Regions from separate parts of the Homo sapiens genome. Here all the other regions are linked to region 3. The links are contacts of gene promoters, found by promoter capture Hi-C in blood cells and fetal thymus (Javierre and others, 2016). All regions are on one chromosome and are shown on one strand. Each heading gives the region's core, a stretch centred on a gene start or on the middle of the fragment in contact. The rest is flanking DNA. Distances are from core to core; before and after follow the strand shown.

Evidence for each region. Contacts are between HindIII fragments. The CHiCAGO score rates a contact against its expected background, and 5 or more counts as called.
Region 1: a contact is called between a fragment that was not itself captured here and the fragment with the promoter of CYP27B1 in region 3, in 9 of 17 cell types (naive B cells, naive CD4 T cells, M2 macrophages and 6 more). The highest score is 7.6, in naive B cells.
Region 2: a fragment that was not itself captured here is called in contact with the fragment with the promoter of CYP27B1 in region 3 in 13 of 17 cell types (naive CD8 T cells, total CD8 T cells, naive CD4 T cells and 10 more); the score reaches 16.6 in naive CD8 T cells.

The regions. Positions count from the first base shown.
Region 1 is chr12:57,574,592-57,577,291 of GRCh38, reverse strand. It overlaps KIF5A (kinesin family member 5A), which reads right to left. Exons shown (of 29, transcript NM_004984.4): 16 at 2,020-2,208; 17 at 1,535-1,652; 18 at 1,141-1,205; 19 at 914-1,023; 20 at 430-531. Among named protein-coding and RNA genes, the nearest start is that of PIP4K2C, 15 kb to the left of the region's middle. The HindIII fragment of the contact is 1,757 bases long and covers 500-2,256 here.
Region 2 is chr12:57,913,616-57,916,315 of GRCh38, reverse strand. No RefSeq gene overlaps it. Among named protein-coding and RNA genes, the nearest start is that of GIHCG, 21 kb to the left of the region's middle. The HindIII fragment of the contact is 9,190 bases long and covers 1-2,700 here.
Region 3 is chr12:57,765,673-57,768,372 of GRCh38, reverse strand. It overlaps CYP27B1 (cytochrome P450 family 27 subfamily B member 1), which reads left to right and starts at 1,295. Exons shown (of 9, transcript NM_000785.4): 1 at 1,295-1,526; 2 at 2,176-2,366. The coding sequence starts at 1,332. The HindIII fragment of the contact is 11,205 bases long and covers 412-2,700 here.

The DNA.
Region 1 (2,700 bases), core at 129-2,628, 190 kb after region 3:
TTACTCATGTTTACTGTGCAAAAATTAGAAAAGAATTTTAAAGAGAGACATAAGGTGAGTTTTTATAAAAAGCCTATGATTCTACTATTTACAGATCAAACCAACATTAACCTTCTGGTGTCCACCTTTCTAGACTTTTTTCTATGCCTACATATCCATGTATACATTTTTATGGGATCATACCATGCATATGGTTTTGTAACCTGTTTTTACACTGAATAGAACACGTAAACCTCCTTCCATACTGGTGAATACTCAACGGCAGTCTTTGCTGAGAGTGTCCTTTTGGTCCCGTCCCTACCCCATCATATTTTTCCCATGAGTCACCCTATCATGTCTGCATGTGTGTCCTGCCTCTGCAAGCGTGTCTGAGTTCACAGTTCTGAGCCTACAAGGCTGTAGTTTTACAGGTAAATCCATGCCACTCACGTCAGCTCCTGCAGCTTGGTGCTCTTCTCGTGTTCTTCGCTCTTCAGCTTCTCGTAGTCAGCCTGAAGCTTCTCTAGCTCTAACTGGAGCTTCTGATTTAGGCTACAGAGCATCAGAAGGTAATGGAGATGGGGGAGAAAGATGTTAATGAGGGGGAAGGGAAGGCCAGCTCTTCAAACTTCTTCCTTTTTGAACGAGTGAGTCCAGTTAGAATTGATGTGTCCACCTTCAGATACCAGAGGCAGACTCAGGCCACTGTTTCCATGACAGAGCCAGGAACCCTGACCTCTCTAATCCTGGGACCCTCAAGGATAGGGACTAGTCGTTATTCCATGTGTCTCCTGAGGTGGGGCTACGAAGTTGTGGCATTGTTGAGGGAATGACACATGGATGTTAAAGAATCAGACCCAGAGGGGACATGTGAGTCAATACAGCAAGGTGACAGGACCCGGGAGGGGCTGGAGTCGCCCTTGGGAACCCTTACTCTTTGAGCTCATCAATGGTCTTCTGCTTCTCGTTGATCTCGTCCCGGAGCCGGGCCAGCTGCCGGTGATGGGCCTCCCGGTGACTCTCCATCTGCAGCTCCAGAGCCTTCTGCAAACAACCCCACCCCAAGCTCAAAGGCCAGACTCCCAGCAACAAGCTCTGTGAGGGCCAGCACAGCTTTCACCACACCAGGCCCCAATTGTCCCTGACACCTTCCTTACTCACCTTCACTTCATCTGCATCCTGAGTGTCAGGCTCCTTGTCCTTCAGGGCCACTTCATGCACAGTTTCTAAGGGAAAGAGGGGAAGACAGCTGACATCAAACCTACCTCTTTCGGAAAGAACTTCACGTTGTGACCAGAACTCCAGGCAGGGCTGGGAATGGACCCACAGGGATGTTCTTCTGTGTTAGGACTGTCCAATTTGATATAGCAGGAACAGAGAACAAGGGTGTATGGTTAATGTAAAATGAGCTACATGCAAAACCTTGGCTAACATATGAGTTGGCATCCATGATTTCAAGCTAATGCTTTGAGTGAGTGATTATTGGGGTGATTTATTTTGATGTTTCTGACTTTTCTGCCCTGGACAGTGGGATGGAGGTATAAGAAGGCCTCACCCTGGGCCTGGAGCTTGGCCAGCTCATCGCTCAAGGAGTCATAGGACTCTTCCAGGTGCCGCTTCTTTAGCTCCACGCTCTGCATGTATTCCGTAAGCGAGCGGATCTTGGCCTCATGCTGGTGGGAGAAAGTTGGTGAGAGGAAGAAGATGGAGCAAAGGACACAAACCCAGGCCACACAGATCTCCAACTCCAGCTCTCCTCCCAGCCCTCCCTCCTGCTACACTTCCCATGAGGGTGCAGGGTTGGGGGCCATTCCTATGGGGCTCTTCCTTTAGCTCCCATGGCTCAGGGGGCAGTACCCGCCCTGAGCCTTTACTTTTTTGGCCCTGATCTGCACCCCTGCCACCCCAGCTTTTCTGTCCTTGATTTCACTTGACCCCAGAACTTTGACATAAAGGTGGGTGTTAGGAGTTTTAGCCATAACCCCAGAGTAGCCTTCTTTCTCCCATGGCATCTGAAGGTTCTCAAACTTAGGCACTCACCTGAGAGATGAGGAGCTGGCAGGATGAGAGCTCCCGCCCGGTCACTTCCATCTTGCGGTGACACTCCACCTGGAGGTTCTCCAGCTGCCGGCACCGCTTGACCACAGACTTGACTTCTGATTTGATTTTGCTGATGTAGAGTCGGGCCACAGTGAACTCCTCCTCGATGGCCCCACTGATCTCCACTGGCTAAGGTGATTAAAGGAGGAAGAGATGCTTCTTGGCTGCTGGGAAGCTTTATCTGTTCCCTCCCACCTTCTACCTACCCATACACACCCACATACGCAGGGACTCAAATGGGATGGGTATTTTCCAAACGACCTTTAGCAGCTCTCTATCAGCGGCATTTCACATTAAATTCCTCCGCCTGCATTTAAAAATCCAATTCTGGCTGGGCGCAGTAGCTCATGCCTTGTAATCTCAGCACTTTGGGAGGTCAAGGTGGGTGGATCACCTGAGGTCAGGAGTTCGAGACCAGCCTGACCAACATGGTGGTGAAACCCTGTCTCTACTAAAAATACAAAATTAGCCAAGCATCATGGCACATGCCTGTAATCCCAGCTACTCAAGAGGCTGAGGCAGGAAATTGCTTGAACCCAGGAGGCGGAGGTTGCAGTGAACCGAGATCACACCACTGGACTCCAGCCTGGGCGACAGAGTGAGACTCCATCTCAAAAAAAA
Region 2 (2,700 bases), core at 136-2,635, 150 kb before region 3:
CTTTTTCTTTTGAGACAGGTTCTTGCTCTGTTGCCCAGGCTGGAGTGCAGTGGTGCAATTATAGCTCGCTGCAATGTCAACCTCCATGTCTCAAGCGATCCTCCCATCTCAGCCCCCGAAGTAGGTGGGACTACAGGTATAAGCTACCACACACCAGAATGATATAAAAAAAAAAATTGTAGAGACAGTGTCTTACTATGTTGCCCTGGCTGGTATCAAACTCCTGAGCTCAAGCAATCCGTATGCCTCAGCCTCCCAAAATGCTGGTTTATAGACGTGAGACACTGCACCCAGCCCACAGTGGGTTTTTTTGTTTGTTTGTTTGTTTCTTTCTTTCTTTCTTTCTTGAGACAGAGTCTCGCTCTGTCGCCCAGGCTGGAGTGCAGTGGCACGATCTCGGCTCACTGCAACCTCTGCCTGCCAGGTTCAAGCCATTCTCCTGCTTCAGCCTCCTGAGTAGCTGGGGTTACAGGCACCCACCACCACACCCAGCTAATTTTTGTATTTTTAGTAGAGACGGGGTTTCACCATGTTAGCCAGGCTGGTCTCGAACTCCCAACCTCTTGTGATCAGCCCACCTCAGCCTCCCAAATTGCTGGGATTACAGGTGTAAGCCACTGTGCCCGGCCACAGTGTTTTTTAAACTACTGGTAATACTCACTTTTAAAAAAATACAACTGTAATCATCATGTCTATCTATATATCCTAAAATTGATGCATTTTCCAAAAGAATTTTAGGTAAAGGTCTGTGGAATCATGAGCAGCTTGCATCCATGAGTTTATATTATGTGGATTTAGAACCATGTCGATTCTCTATTTGGAATTTTTCCTTCTTTTTTTTTTTTTTCAACTATACTTTGAAACAGTATGGGACCTAGAAGAAGGCAAGCACCCAGCCCCTATCATGTAGTCAGTCTGGCTGCCACCCCAGCAGTAGGATATAGTGAAAATATTATGCCCTGGGGATAACCACTCAAATAGATACCCACATACCCCTTATGCTTGTCAGTGTCTTGAGACTGGTATTGTGTTGTGTTTGTCTTTCTTGCAAAATGTGTCTGTTTTATTCACATATTTTCATCATGTAAGAAAAAATTTTCACTGTTTTGAAACTCTGACACCAAGGAACAGGGAAAAAGCTAAACCTATGGATGTGAAACTAAACATTATCAAGAACTATGTGCCAGGAGAAGACAGCTAACATCAAAGGTTGCTTGGAACTGACTGAATGCACATTGCAAATCTCAAGAAGCTCAAAGCTGTTGACTGACTAGAGTGGGCACACGCCTTTAACCCTCACTTTGTTCTTACCATCCTCAGAATCCCACGCAGGAAAAGGCCCATCTGTCAATGAGCAATATTGTAGAACCAGCCAGGAGCCACAACTCCTCTTTAAGGGACTCAAGCACCTCACTCATGTCTTCTTCCTCAAAGTCCACCTGCCTGGCTAGCCTTCAAGCCATCGACCTGTGGAGGGTGGAGGAAACCACCCCCACTAACTCCAACCCTGCATCCAACAGCTTTCCCTGCTTATGCCACACCTCAACTTCCTTCCCTTGCTCTTTCTTTCTTACCCTGCACTCCTCCTACCCTTGGCCACTTCACCAATTACCCACTGGTACTTCAACAAGCCCATCTGGGTCCTCTCCTTCCCCAGCCTGATGGAGGCTGCATAGTTATCCTGGAAACAGCACAGGCTTTGGATAAAAACAATACGTTTGACTTTTGGCTCTGCTTTGATGATCTTTATGAGCTTGGGCATGTTATATAGCCCCTCTAAGTCTGTGTCTTCATCTGTTAAATAGAGATAATAAGATTTACCTTGCAGGAATGAAATGATGTATTTTGCAGCAACTTGGATGGAGCTGGAGGTCATTATTCTAAGTGAAGTAACTCAGGAATGGAAAACCAAATATCATAGGTTCTCATAAGTGGGAGCTAGGCTGTGAGGACGCAAAGGCATAAGAAAATTCGTGGGAAGACTTTGGGGACTTGTGGGGAGAAGGTTGGGAGGGGTGAGAGATAAAAGACTATACATTGGGTATGGTGTACACTGCTCAAGTGATGGGTACACTAAAATCTCAGATATCACCACTAAAGAACTTACCCATATAACCAAAAGCCATCTGTACCCCAAAAAAAATTGAAATGAAAATAAAAATTTTTTAAAAGATCTACCTTGCAGAGTTGTTGCAGGATTAATAAAGATGGTTTTAGTGTCTGACATATTAGTAGTGAAATAGGAGAGTTCCCTGACCCCCCTTGCAGGACATGTGACAGGGGTGTGGCTCATCTGTTAGGTCGCTGCCACTGATCAAACCCCTTACAGGATGGGGAGCACACAGATGGACATGTGAAGGAGCCAGGGTGCTGGGCTCCGGCCCCATGGCAGCATCCAGGGTTGGGAGCCTGTGACTCTTGGAACCCAACAGGCATGTGTTACAGTGTGCGCTTTTAGCCTTGCTAGTGTTAACCAGCTCAGTGGACCCTCTGCCTTTTTGCAAGGGCAGAGGGCCAGTGTGGCAGCTTTCTGCATCCTGAGCTCTTGTCCAGTGTCCCGGAAGAATCAGGTCACACATGGACTTGAAGGATGAATGCAGGGGTTTTATTGAATGGTGGAGATGGCGCTCAGAGGCATGGATGGGGAACTGAAAGGGGGATGGGGTGGGAAGATGATCTTCCCCTGGAGTTTGGCCATCC
Region 3 (2,700 bases), core at 46-2,545:
GCACAGAGCCTGATAGAGTTGCAGTGGGGAATGAGGGAGTAAGGAGCAGAGAGGTAAACTGTGGGAGATTCTTTTATTTTAATTTTTTTTAGAGACAGGCCCTCTCTCTGTTGCCTAGGCTGGAGTGCAGTGGTACAATCATAACTCACTGCAGCCTTGACCTCCCGGGCTCATGTAATCCACCTCAGCCTCTCAAGGCACTACAGGCATACGCCACCATGCCTGGCTAATTTTTGTATTTTTTGTAGAGACAGTTCCACTATGTTGCCCAGGCTGGTCTCAGACTCCTGAGCTCAAGCAGTCTGCCCACCTTAGCCTCCCAAAGTGTTGGGATTACAGTCATGAGCTGCCGTGCCCAGCCTAATTTTTAAACTTCTTCTGTAGAGACAGTCTTGCTATGTTGCTCAAGCTTGTCTCAACCTCCTGGCCTCATGCCATCCTCCTGCCTCAGCCTCCCAAAGTGCTGGGATTATAGGCATGAGCCACCACAGGATTCTGAGGCTAAAAGTAGAAAGGAGCTGCTAACCAGAAAGCCCCCCAGAGGAGACCGAGTCAGCTGGGGAATTAGAACATCCACATCCATTTAGCTCCTCTAACACCCCACAGACAATCTCTGAACTTAACTAATGTACAAAAAGTTTCATTTCTGCTTCTCAAGCCCCAAATTCCCATGTCTGGAAGGAGGGGGCTTGTATACCCAAGAGACCCCCTTATCCTCAAGAAAGAAAGATGGAGGTTCTAGGAGCCATTTTAGCCCATTAACCCACCTGCCATCTGCCCAGTATATGTTAGGTACAGGAGGAGGGGGAGGTGTGGCTAGTGCAGGAAAATAATGCAGAGAAGATACAACCCACTAAGCCAAGAATGTGGGGACAGTTACAGCTGTGCCTCCCCTGCTTCCCTTCCTGGAGGAGCTGAAAGATGGGGAATTCCTGAGGATGGGCCTAAAGGGGCTGGGCTCACTGGTAGAAGTGGGAATATCAGAGACTGACTAGTGTAGCTTGGTCACCTAGTCCCTACTAAAAAGCCTTATAGCCTTTCCTAGGATGAGACTTTGAGGCTCCTAGACAAAGGCACTCTCCCAGGAGGAAAATCTTAGGCCCTCCCTCCCATGAGGGTCATTGCAACATGAGACCCAAGGGAGTTGTGAAGTCAGCCCCAGCCCCGCCTACTGTTCCTGGGTGCTAATCCCCAGCACAGACCACTCAGGAGGAGGGATTGGCTGAGGAGCTTGGAGAGGGGGCGTCATCACCTCACCCAAAGGTTAAATAGGGGTTGAGATATGATGCTCAGGAGAAGCGCTTTCTTTCGCGAGCACCCTGAACCAGACCATGACCCAGACCCTCAAGTACGCCTCCAGAGTGTTCCATCGCGTCCGCTGGGCGCCCGAGTTGGGCGCCTCCCTAGGCTACCGAGAGTACCACTCAGCACGCCGGAGCTTGGCAGACATCCCAGGCCCCTCTACGCCCAGCTTTCTGGCCGAACTTTTCTGCAAGGGGGGGCTGTCGAGGCTACACGAGCTGCAGGTAGGAAGGGACGCCTTTCCCGAGACAGAGTGCTGGGGAAACTGGTTTTGACAGCGTCAGAAAGGACTGACTAGTGCAGAGCAAATGTGGGACAGCCAGAGAGAACGGATGCCCATGAAATAAGGAAAAGGCGAGTTGAGGCTGGGGGCGGTGTGGCTACACTCGGGCAGAGCCCGTCCCGACTCTTAGCAGAGGGCGCTGCGAAAGCGCCTTCTCGCTGTCCTGAGGTGTGGAGATCCTGCAGATAAAGTACAAGTGCGCGGGAGGGGGAGGCCGGAGTGGGCAGTACCCTCCGCCTGCTTGCGGCTTAAAGCTACATGGGTTCCTTTTCATTCACTGAGGACTCGTCCTGAGATGGACAGTCCAGACATGGAACTTTTAGAGATTTCTCCTCGACCGAGATGATCAGAGAGGTCCTGAATGTCTGCCTTGCACAAAGTTCCGGTTTTGCCCATCACACTCAAACTTTCTAGGGATGGGAAATGAGAGAGGAGGAGTTTGCAGTATCAAAGGCATACACTAGTTGGGCACCCGAGAAAGAGCAGAAGCTCCCTATTCCCAAGCCCAGTCAACGCCCTTGGCGTGGGCACAGGTCAAGCTGAAAGTCCCCGCCCAGGTATCCAAGTGTCCGCTGTGTCCGCTCCCCCAGGTGCAGGGCGCCGCGCACTTCGGGCCGGTGTGGCTAGCCAGCTTTGGGACAGTGCGCACCGTGTACGTGGCTGCCCCTGCACTCGTCGAGGAGCTGCTGCGACAGGAGGGACCCCGGCCCGAGCGCTGCAGCTTCTCGCCCTGGACGGAGCACCGCCGCTGCCGCCAGCGGGCTTGCGGACTGCTCACTGCGTGAGTCTTCTCTGCCCCCAGAAGCCCAGACGCCCTGCAGCGGCCCTCTCCTGCTGCGGGTCCCGAAACTATCAATCTGGGGGCATGGTGGGAGGTCGGCTGTCCCACTCTACCATTGGGCATCTTGGGGTTCCCATCCCAGTCTGCTTCACCCACACTCAGGTTGAGCCCCAACCTCACTCCCCGCCTACCTCCTTATCCTTTGAGGCCCGAATCCTGGGAACTGGGGGAACCGGAGGAATTGGGCTAGGGTACAAGGATCTGGATGGAATGAATGTAAGGTTCTGTGACTCAAGTTACCCGGGAACCCCGGCCCCTGAGGGCAGGAAATGAG